Regions from separate parts of the Homo sapiens genome. Here region 1 is linked to region 2. Evidence: promoter capture Hi-C in human tissues and cell types (Jung and others, 2019). All regions are on one chromosome and are shown on one strand. The core of a region is centred on a gene start or on the middle of the fragment in contact, and the rest is flanking DNA. Distances in the headings are between cores, read along the strand shown. Region 1 overlaps APBA3 (amyloid beta precursor protein binding family A member 3). Region 2 holds the start of ZFR2 (zinc finger RNA binding protein 2).

The links. The method cuts DNA at HindIII sites, captures the fragments that hold promoters and counts their contacts. A contact is called where the count stands out against the background at its distance.
Region 1: a contact is called between a fragment that was not itself captured here and the fragment with the promoter of ZFR2 in region 2, in 2 of the 25 tissues and cell types used here (IMR-90 fibroblasts and mesendoderm cells).

Annotation. Positions count from the first base shown.
Region 1 is chr19:3,751,501-3,756,194 of GRCh38, reverse strand. It overlaps APBA3 (amyloid beta precursor protein binding family A member 3), which reads left to right. Exons shown (of 11, transcript NM_004886.4): 4 at 1,855-2,000; 5 at 2,090-2,176; 6 at 2,269-2,430; 7 at 3,205-3,375; 8 at 3,475-3,687; 9 at 4,642-4,694. Among named protein-coding and RNA genes, the nearest start is that of APBA3, 7.8 kb to the left of the region's middle. The HindIII fragment of the contact is 3,385 bases long and covers 531-3,915 here.
Region 2 is chr19:3,866,998-3,871,265 of GRCh38, reverse strand. It overlaps ZFR2 (zinc finger RNA binding protein 2), which reads left to right and starts at 2,228. Exons shown (of 19, transcript NM_015174.2): 1 at 2,228-2,301. The coding sequence starts at 2,249. It also overlaps the pseudogene FTLP5. RefSeq lists an enhancer at 1-141. The HindIII fragment of the contact is 14,046 bases long and covers 1-4,268 here.

The sequences.
Region 1 (4,694 bases), core at 974-3,473, 120 kb after region 2:
AAATTACTTTTTTTCATACCAAATCTTCAATATCTAGTGTGTATTTTCTATTTACATCTCTATTCAGTCGAGCCACATTTCAAGTCTGTGATAGATACATGTGCCTGGTGGCTACCACAGTGAATGACGTATCTCTCTAGAACCCCAGAGTGGAGCTCTTGTTCCAGAATGCTTAGATCCTGAAGGATAGTGGGCAGAACCGACTGTGGTGTAGGGTGAATTTCACTTAGTGGTGTCCAGAACGGGGCCCTACACCCGTGGTTCTAAACCAAAGAGCCGTAGTTACTGGTTAGAATGTTCTAGGGCCACTGGCAGAGCTGTCTGGCTCTGGGTAGCTCAGGGAATTCTAGAACCATGAGAGTAAAGCTTTTTTTTTTTTTTCCTTTTTGTTTTTGGAGATGGAATCTTGCTCTGTCACCCAGGCTGGTGTGCAGTGGTGCGATCTCTCTCGGCTCACTGCAACCTCCACCTCCTGGGTTCAAGTGATTCTCCCGCCTCAGCTTTCAAGTAGCTGGGATTATAGGCACGCGCCACCACGCCCAGCTAATTTTGTATTTTTAGTAGAGACGGGGTTTCGCCATGTTGGCCAGGCAGGTCTCGAACTCCTGACCTCAGGTGATCCACCCCCCCCCCCCGGCCTCCTAAAGTGCTGGGGTTACAGACGTGAGCCACCGCACCCAGCCAGGAGTAAAGCTTTATGTAGTTCTGGGCTGGGTTGGGAGTATTCTGGAACTGTCTAGAATTCTCCTGGAACAGAATTGTTTGTTCCTTGACTGGTCAGGTAATTCTTAGAATCCCTGGTGTAGCCAAAGGTGTGAACTACTGAAGGAGATTCTAGAACCACAGGAAGAGCTGCCTGACGCGATTGTGATTAAGATGTTCTGGAATCACGGAGCAGAGAAGTCTGATTCTAGAGTGATAATAAGATTCTAAAACTCCTGACAGAATTGCTATGAGACCTGTCAGAGAGTTCTGGAATCAAGGGTCAGAACCAGCTGGGGTTCTGGAGAGTATGGGAATTTTAGACAGGCAGCAGGGTCTGTCTCTGTTCTGAGTGGTTCTACAACCCGGGAACAGAGCTGCCTGCTATCCTGGGCTGACTGCAGACGGTTCTAGAACAGTGGGCAGAGCTGGCCAGTTCTAGATTGATGGAGGGAATTCCAGAACCAAGAAGCAGGGGTCCACTGTGGTTCTAGAATGTTGTGGAGGTTTCGAAATTGGAGTGGGGGGTGGAGCGTCGTGGCTCACGCCTGTCATCCCAGTACTTTAGGAGGCCAAGGCGGGTGGATCACTTGAGGTCGGGAGTTTGAGACCAGCCTGGCCAACGTGGCGAAACCCCGTCTCTACTAAAAATACAAAAACTAGCCAGGCGTGGTGGTGGGCGCCTGTAATCCCAGCTACTCATGAGACTGAGGCAGGAGAATCGTTTGAACCCAGGAAGCGGAGGTTGCAGTGAGCTGAGATCACACCACCGAGCTCCAGCCTGGGCGACAGAGCGAGACCGTGTCTCAAAAAAGCAGGAGTGGGACTGTCTGGTTCCGGCCTGATCATGGAATTCTGGGGACACGGGGTGAAGGTATCTGTGGGTGCTAGATCTGGCTTTGAATCCAGCCATGGCCTGGACTCACTGGTTTCCCACCTGCGAGTCCTTGAGGGATGGACAGAAGGTTCTAGACCTGTGAGGGCCAGGCTGCTTGGATGGTTCTAGAACAGTGGGCTGTGCTTCCTGGCTGGAGAGTGCTAAGCCACCAGCTAGAACACTGTGTCTCCCGGCCATCTCGGAGAGCGTAGCCCTGGGGCAGAGCCTGTGGGAGTGGGCCCCTGGGGGCCGACCCTCTTCGCTGTCGCCCTCAGTGCCTGGTCCCTGTGACCATGAAGACCTCCTGGACGGTGTCATATTTGGGGCCAGGTACCTGGGGTCCACCCAGCTGGTGTCGGAACGGAACCCGCCCACCAGCACGCGCATGGCCCAGGCCCGGGAGGCCATGGACCGCGTCAAGGTGAGGGGGCGGCCGGGGCCGGGCGGGCAGGCGGGTGGGCTGCAGGCTGGGTCTGTGGGGGCCTCCACCTCCCACGCCGCCACCCACAGGCCCCCGATGGGGAGACCCAGCCCATGACGGAGGTGGACCTGTTCGTCTCCACCAAGAGGATCAAGGTCTTGACAGCGGACTCCCAGGTACGGGGCAGGGACCCGCCCCAGGGATGCGGGTGGGGTGATCGAGCCTGGCACGGCCCCCCAACCCACCCAGGCTGCCTCTCCCGCCCCAGGAGGCCATGATGGACCACGCCCTGCATACCATCTCCTACACAGCCGACATCGGCTGCGTGCTGGTGCTGATGGCGCGGCGGCGGCTGGCACGGAGGCCGGCACCCCAGGACCACGGCCGCCGCCTCTACAAGATGCTCTGCCACGTATTCTACGCGGAGGACGTGAGCAGCCAGGGCGCGGGGCCACCCTCCTGAGGCCCTCCTCACTGCAACTGTCGCCTCCCTCAGTGGGCCGTGCATTTAACCTCCCTCCCATAAGCTTATTTTTAAATTCTTTTTTTGGGACAAGGTCTCCTTCTGTCACCCAGGCTGGAGTGCAGTGGCGCAATCATAGTTCACTGCAGCCTCAACCTTCCAGGCTCAAGCGATCCTCCCACTTCAGCCTCTCTAGTAGCTGGGACCACCGGGGTATCACCATGCCTGGCTAATTTTTGTATTTTTTATAGAGACACGGTCTCGCTCTGTTGCCCAGGTGAACACGGTCTCAAACTCCTGGGCTCAAGCGATCCACCCACCTCAGCCTCCCAAAGTGCTGCAATTACAGGCGTGAGCCACCGCGTCCAGCCTCCTATAAGACTCCAAGACTCTCGGCCGACTCCCCGAAACCTTGCCCGCTCCTGGGCTGTCCCTGCCACCCATGAGGCCCCAGGCCCCCTGGCTGGGTCTTTGATAGCTTTTCCCACAGCCCATGCGCAGGGAGCTGCCTCCCTCATCGTCCCCCCAGCCCAGGGCTGCCCCTCCCCTTCCTTCTCCCCGTAGATTCCCCAAGATGCGGCTGTCTCTCCACCTCCCCCAAAGCCCCAGGGCAGAAGGCTGTGTCCTGGGACTCTCACCCCAGGTGGGGACAGGAGGGCTCAGCTCTGAGGACCCTGGGGACTTTGGGGACCTGGAGGAGGTGGGTGGGACACCCCAGGGACGCGCCACTCCTCCCCGCAGGCCCAGCTCATCGCCCAGGCCATTGGCCAGGCCTTCGCCGCCGCCTACAGCCAGTTCCTACGGGAAAGCGGTATTGACCCCAGCCAGGTGGGCGTGCACCCGAGCCCAGGCGCCTGCCACCTCCATAATGGGGACCTGGACCACTTCTCCAACAGTGACAACTGCCGGGAGGTGAGTGAGGTGCTGGGCAGCCCCCACCTGGTGCCCCCCACACCCGTGCACCTGCACCGGGCCCTGCTGAGCAGCCTCCGCGCCCCCTGTGTGTCCCAGGTGCACCTCGAGAAGCGGCGAGGGGAGGGCCTGGGCGTGGCCCTGGTGGAGTCGGGCTGGGGCTCCCTGCTGCCCACAGCCGTCATCGCCAACCTGCTGCACGGGGGGCCTGCTGAGCGCTCGGGGGCCCTCAGCATCGGGGACCGCCTGACCGCCATCAACGGGACCAGCCTGGTGGGGCTGCCCCTGGCTGCGTGCCAGGCCGCTGTCCGCGTGAGTTTCCTGGTGTGGCAGGGCCCCCACACTCCCAGGAAGGGGAGCTGAGTCCCAGAGAGGTCTCCTCCCTGGCCAGGTCTCTCCAGCCCAGCCAGGAGGGACAAAGTCGAACTTTTAAGTCCTGCCCACTGGTGTGCCCTTGGGGAAACTGAGGCCTGGAGAAGGGAGGCCACTTGTCCAGGGCACCTCCCTAGTACCAGAGCCAGGATGGAAATGCGGGTGGCCCAGCTCCAGGGCTGGGCCACTCTCTCTCTCTAACAAGAAACAGCTAATTTCTGGGGGGGTTTGTTTGTTTGAGACAAGGTCTCACTCTTGCCCAGGCTGGAGTGCAGCGGTGCACCTGGCTCATTGCAGCCTTGACCTTCTGGGCTCAAGCAAATCTCCTTCCTCAGCCTCCCGAGTAGCTGGGACCACAGGTGTGCACCACCACGCCCAGTTTATTGTTTTATTTTTTGTAGAGATGGAGTCTCACTATGTTGGTTGGCCAGGCTGGTCTTGAGCTCCTGGCCTCAAGTGATCCACCTGCCTCGGCCTCCCACAGTGCTGGGATTACAGGTGTGAGCCACTGCACCTGGCCATGTTTTTGAGTCTCAACCTTTGTTGCTCAGATGGGGAAACTGAGGCCCAGAGATAGGGAGGGACCTGCCCCCGTCAGAGGAATGAGGCCACAGTCCGTGCAGCCTCTTACAGATGTTTGCAGCCTGCCTGGAGAGCCCGGCTGTCGGCTTGGCTTTTGGCCATAAGGAAGCGATATGGCTCGGGTCAGACAGCTTCGACCCCATGCCCACCGGGCCCGAGTCTGTTCTCTATCACATCTGAGGGGGTCTTCCAGAATTGAGCCCCTGGACTCCAGGTCTCTGGTTTATGAGAGGGTAAACTGAGGCCCAGAGGGGGCTACAACCTGCCAGGCTGTCCGGCAGCTGAGTGAGGCCAACGGCCCCCGCCCCACAGGAGACGAAGTCGCAGACGTCGGTGACACTCAGCATCGTCCACTGCCCTCCCGT
Region 2 (4,268 bases), core at 979-3,478:
GGTGGTGGGCGCCTGTAGTCCCAGCTACTCGGGAGGCTGAGGCGGGAGAATGGCGTGAACCTAGGAGGCGGAGCTTGCAGTGAGCAGAGATCGCACCACTGCACTCCAGCCTGGGCGACAGAGCCAGACTCCGTCTCAAAAAAAAAACAAGCAAAAAAAAAAAAAAAAAAACCCGCAGAGGGAGGAGGTGTAGGAGGCCCGCAGGTGCAAACTGACCAGGCGGTTGACGGCTGCCTCCACCGCGGTGGAATAATTCTGACGAATCTGGGAGCTCATGGTTGGTCGGCAAGAAGGAGCTAACCAAAAAAACGGCGTTGGTTGGTCCGAGAAGCAGGAGATGGCTGAGCCGATGCTCCTGGAGGTTGCAAGAAGAGAGGAAATCAGCGGGTGGTCGGAGGCTGGAAGTGAGTTCCCGGATCTGTTCCATCCAAACACTGTGGAAGCAAGAGACGGATCCGCGGGACCGCCAAACACGCTGCTGCTTGTCAGGTTTCAATACTGTCAAGTGACTCTCCCTCCCCCTCCTTCCAGGCTGCAGTCTTGGGAAGGAAGTCACTATGCACAACCCACACTCAAGAGGTGTAGAGTTACTCTCTATCTCCTTAAGCGCAGTGTAGCTACACAAATTAGGAATTCTTCTGCATAAGAGATTTGTCTGTTTGCCTCCATTTATTTGTTTATTCATTCAATTCTTTCTCTCTCTCTCTCTCTCTCTCTTCTTTCCTTCCCTTCCCTCCCTCCCTGCTCCTCTCCCTCTCCTCTTTTATTATTTATTTATTTATTTTTTTATTTTTTATTTTTTTATTTTTTTGAGACGGTGTATTGCTCTGTTGCCCAGGCTGGAGTACAGTGGTGTGATCTCGGCTCGCTGCATCCTCCACCTCCTGGGTTAGGTAATTCTCCTGCCTCAGCCTCCCGAGTAGCTGGGATTACAGGTGTGCCCCACCACGCCTGGCTAATTTTTTTTTTTGTATTTTTAGTAGAGACAGGGTTTTGCCATGTTGGCTAGGCTGCTCTTGAACTCCTGACCTTGGGTGAGCTGCCCACCTCGCCTTCCCAAAGTGCTGGGATTACAGGCGTGAGCCACCACGCCCAGCCCTTTCTTTCTTTTCTCTTTTTTGAGACAGGGTCTCACTCTGGAGTGCAGTGGTACAGTCACAGATCACTGCAGCCTTGACAGCCCAGGCTCAAGTGATCCTCCCACCTTAGCCTCCTGAGTAGCTGGGACCACAGGCATGTACCACCATGACCAGCTAATTAAAAAAAAATTGTAGAAACAGGGTCTTGCTATGTTGCCCAGGCTAGTCTCAAAGTCCTAGGGCTCAAGATCCTCCTGCCTCCGCCTCTCAAAATGTTGGGATTACAGACGTGAGCCACTGTGCCCGGCCTATCATTTATTTATATCACGTTGTGAACACAGGAGGCAGAGACCATGGGGGCCTTCTGAAGAGTCATTCTGAGGCTAGATGCAGTGGCTCACGTCTGTAATCCCAGCACTTTTGGAGGCCAAGGCAAGATTATTTGAGGCCAGGAGTTCAACATCAGCCTGGGCAACATAGCAAGACACTGTCTCTACAAAAAATTTAAAAATTAGCTGGCTGTGGTGGTGGTGGGGCTTGAGCAGAGACCTCCACATCTGAGTGGTTAAAGAGAAGGTGGGGCTCGGAGACAGAGGTAGGGCTTGTGCAGAGACCATATCTGAGCAGGTAAAGGGAAGGCGGGGCTCCGAGAAAGAGGCGGGGCTTGTGGCATGGGTGGGGCTTGAGCAGAGACCTCCACACCTGAATGGTTAAAGGGAAGGTACGGTTCCAAAAAAAGGCGGGGCTTGTGGCATGGGTGGGGGTTGAGCAGAGATCACATCTGAGTGGGTAAAGGGAAGGCAGGGCTCTGAGTAAGAGGCGGGGCTTGTAGCATGGGCGGGACTTGATCAGATACCACCACATCTGAGTGGTTAAAGGGAATGTGGGGCTCCGAGAAAGAGGCAGGGCTTCTAGCATGGGCGGGGCTTGAGCAGAGACCTCCACATTTGAGTGGTTAAGAGGAGGGCGGGGCTCTGCGTAGGAGGCGGGGCCTCGGGGCAGGTGTGGTCGCGGGGCGGTGTCTCCCTAGCCTAAGAGAAGGAAGCGAGAAGGTGAGGGCTTCGCGCAGGGGGCGGAGCTTGGGGCGCGTGGCCAGGCGCGAGCGGCACGCGGCTCGGGGGCGGGGCGGGTGACGTCGCGGGTCCGCCAGGCTCGGGGAAGACGCCAAGATGGCGACGAGTCAGTATTTCGACTTCGCGCAGGGCGGCGGCCCGCAGTACAGGTAACTGCCCCGCCGCGCCAGCCCCCGCCAGTCCCGGCCCCTGCAGCCTGGCCGGGACCCCGCCTACCCCTTCTCCCGCCGCGTGCGCCCGGCCCGGCCCCAGTCCCAGCCCCAACCTGGAACCCCGGCCTGAGGGAAGCCGCGGCGCCGGGAGAAGCAGGCGGGGCGGCCTCAGGTTAGGCACCGGGCGGGATGCGGGCTCCGGGGCTCCGGCTGAGACGTCTCTGCAGCCAACGGTGTCTGTCGGCGGGAGCGGGAGGGGGCTCCTGAAGTGGGAGGGGGCCTGGGTTTGGGCCTGGGCCTGTGCGGGGTCGGGGGGGTCAGCCCCTGATGGGGGCGCCACGAGGAGGGCAGCGAGAGGGGACAGACCCGGGCGGGGGGTGGGTGGTCTGACCGAGGAGGGGAGGGGACGGAACTGACCCAATGCAGGGAGGAGACCTGGGAGGTGCCTGGCCGGGGAGTGGGTGGGGATGGGCAGAGGGGAGCTGACCCCTGATTGCTGGTAGGGGAAGAGAAGACACAGACCTAGGAGGGTGTCTGGCTGGGCAGGAGGAGGGGAAGGGCAGAGGGGCATTGACCCCCGATTGCGGGGGGAGGAGAAGACACAGACCTGGGAGGGTGCCTGGCCGGGCAGGGGGATGGACAGAGGGTAGCTGACCCCCGATTACTTGTAGGGGAGGAGAAAACAGAGATCAGCGAGGGTTCCTGGCTGGGCAGGAGGAAGCCACAGTCGAGGGGTGAGGAATTGGCCCCTGATGGGGGTAAGAGAGAAGACAGAAACCTGGGAGGGTGTCTGGCTGGACAGGGGGAGAGCTAGAGCGGAGCTGACCCCGATTGCTGGTAGGGGGAGAGAATTCAGACCTGGGAGGGTGTCTGGCTGGGCAGGAGGAGGGGAAGGGCAGAGGGGCGTTAATCCCCGATTGCTGGAGGAGGAGAAGGCAGAGACCTGGGAAGTTTCCCGACTGGGCAGGGGGCAGCAACATTCGAGTGTGGAGGGCACTGACCCCTGATGGTGGGGGTAGGAGAGAAGGCAGAGACCTGGGAGGGTACCTAGCAGGCAGGGGCAGAGACCTGGGGTGGGGTGTGGAGTAGGGGTGGGAACCTGACCCCTGATGTGGGGTGGAGGAGAGAAGACAGAGACCTGGGAGGTTACCCCAGGGAGGGGCGGAAACCGAGGTTGGTGGGGAACTGAGGCCTGACTGGGGAAGGGGGACAGAGACTTGGCGGGAAGCCAGTATTATGTGGGAGGAGGTCCTGAGGTCAAATAAGAGGGTGGGCACCTGGGTTTCCAGGGAACTGGGACCCTGCTGGGACAGTGAGGAGGGAGAAAGGGCCCTGAGTGTTGTGATATTTAAGATCCTTTTCTAGGTCTTAAATATGTGGTCGTTTGGGAGGGGAGGGAGAGAAAGGATCCTGGAGGAGAGATGGCAGGGGATGGGGACACACTGGGAACTGGCCAGGGGCAGAAGGGCTCAGAGGGTAGGGACACACACGGGGTAAGTTTGTGCCCCAAGTGTACAAACACACACTCTACACTGTTCTCCCAGGCCTGCTCCTCGGAGCATCTCTGCTATCTTCAGCCCGTCCATCTGCCCCCAAGACTGGAGTCCCAGTCCGGGAGCCAGGGCTGGCATCTCTGAGGGGACCAGATTCCCCCCCCAACAGTTGATCATTTCCGCGTGTCACCCTTGTGTTAGTTTCCAGCTGGTAGCTTGCTATAACCTTGTTTCTCACAGTCCCTGCTGAGCCCCCACAGATACAAACCACCCCTTGGGCACCTCATAGAGGGGCCTCTGCTGAGCTCAGGGGGGTCTTTGCCCCCCGCGGTGTTCCTACTGCATTTCAGCACATGGAAGAGAGATCCAGGCTGGTGTTTCAGCTTCCCGCGGTGGAGCGGCAGTGCCGACCCTTCCACCAGTGCTGTGATATTGCTGTGCCCTTTCTAATGGAATCACAAAGAGAAACCA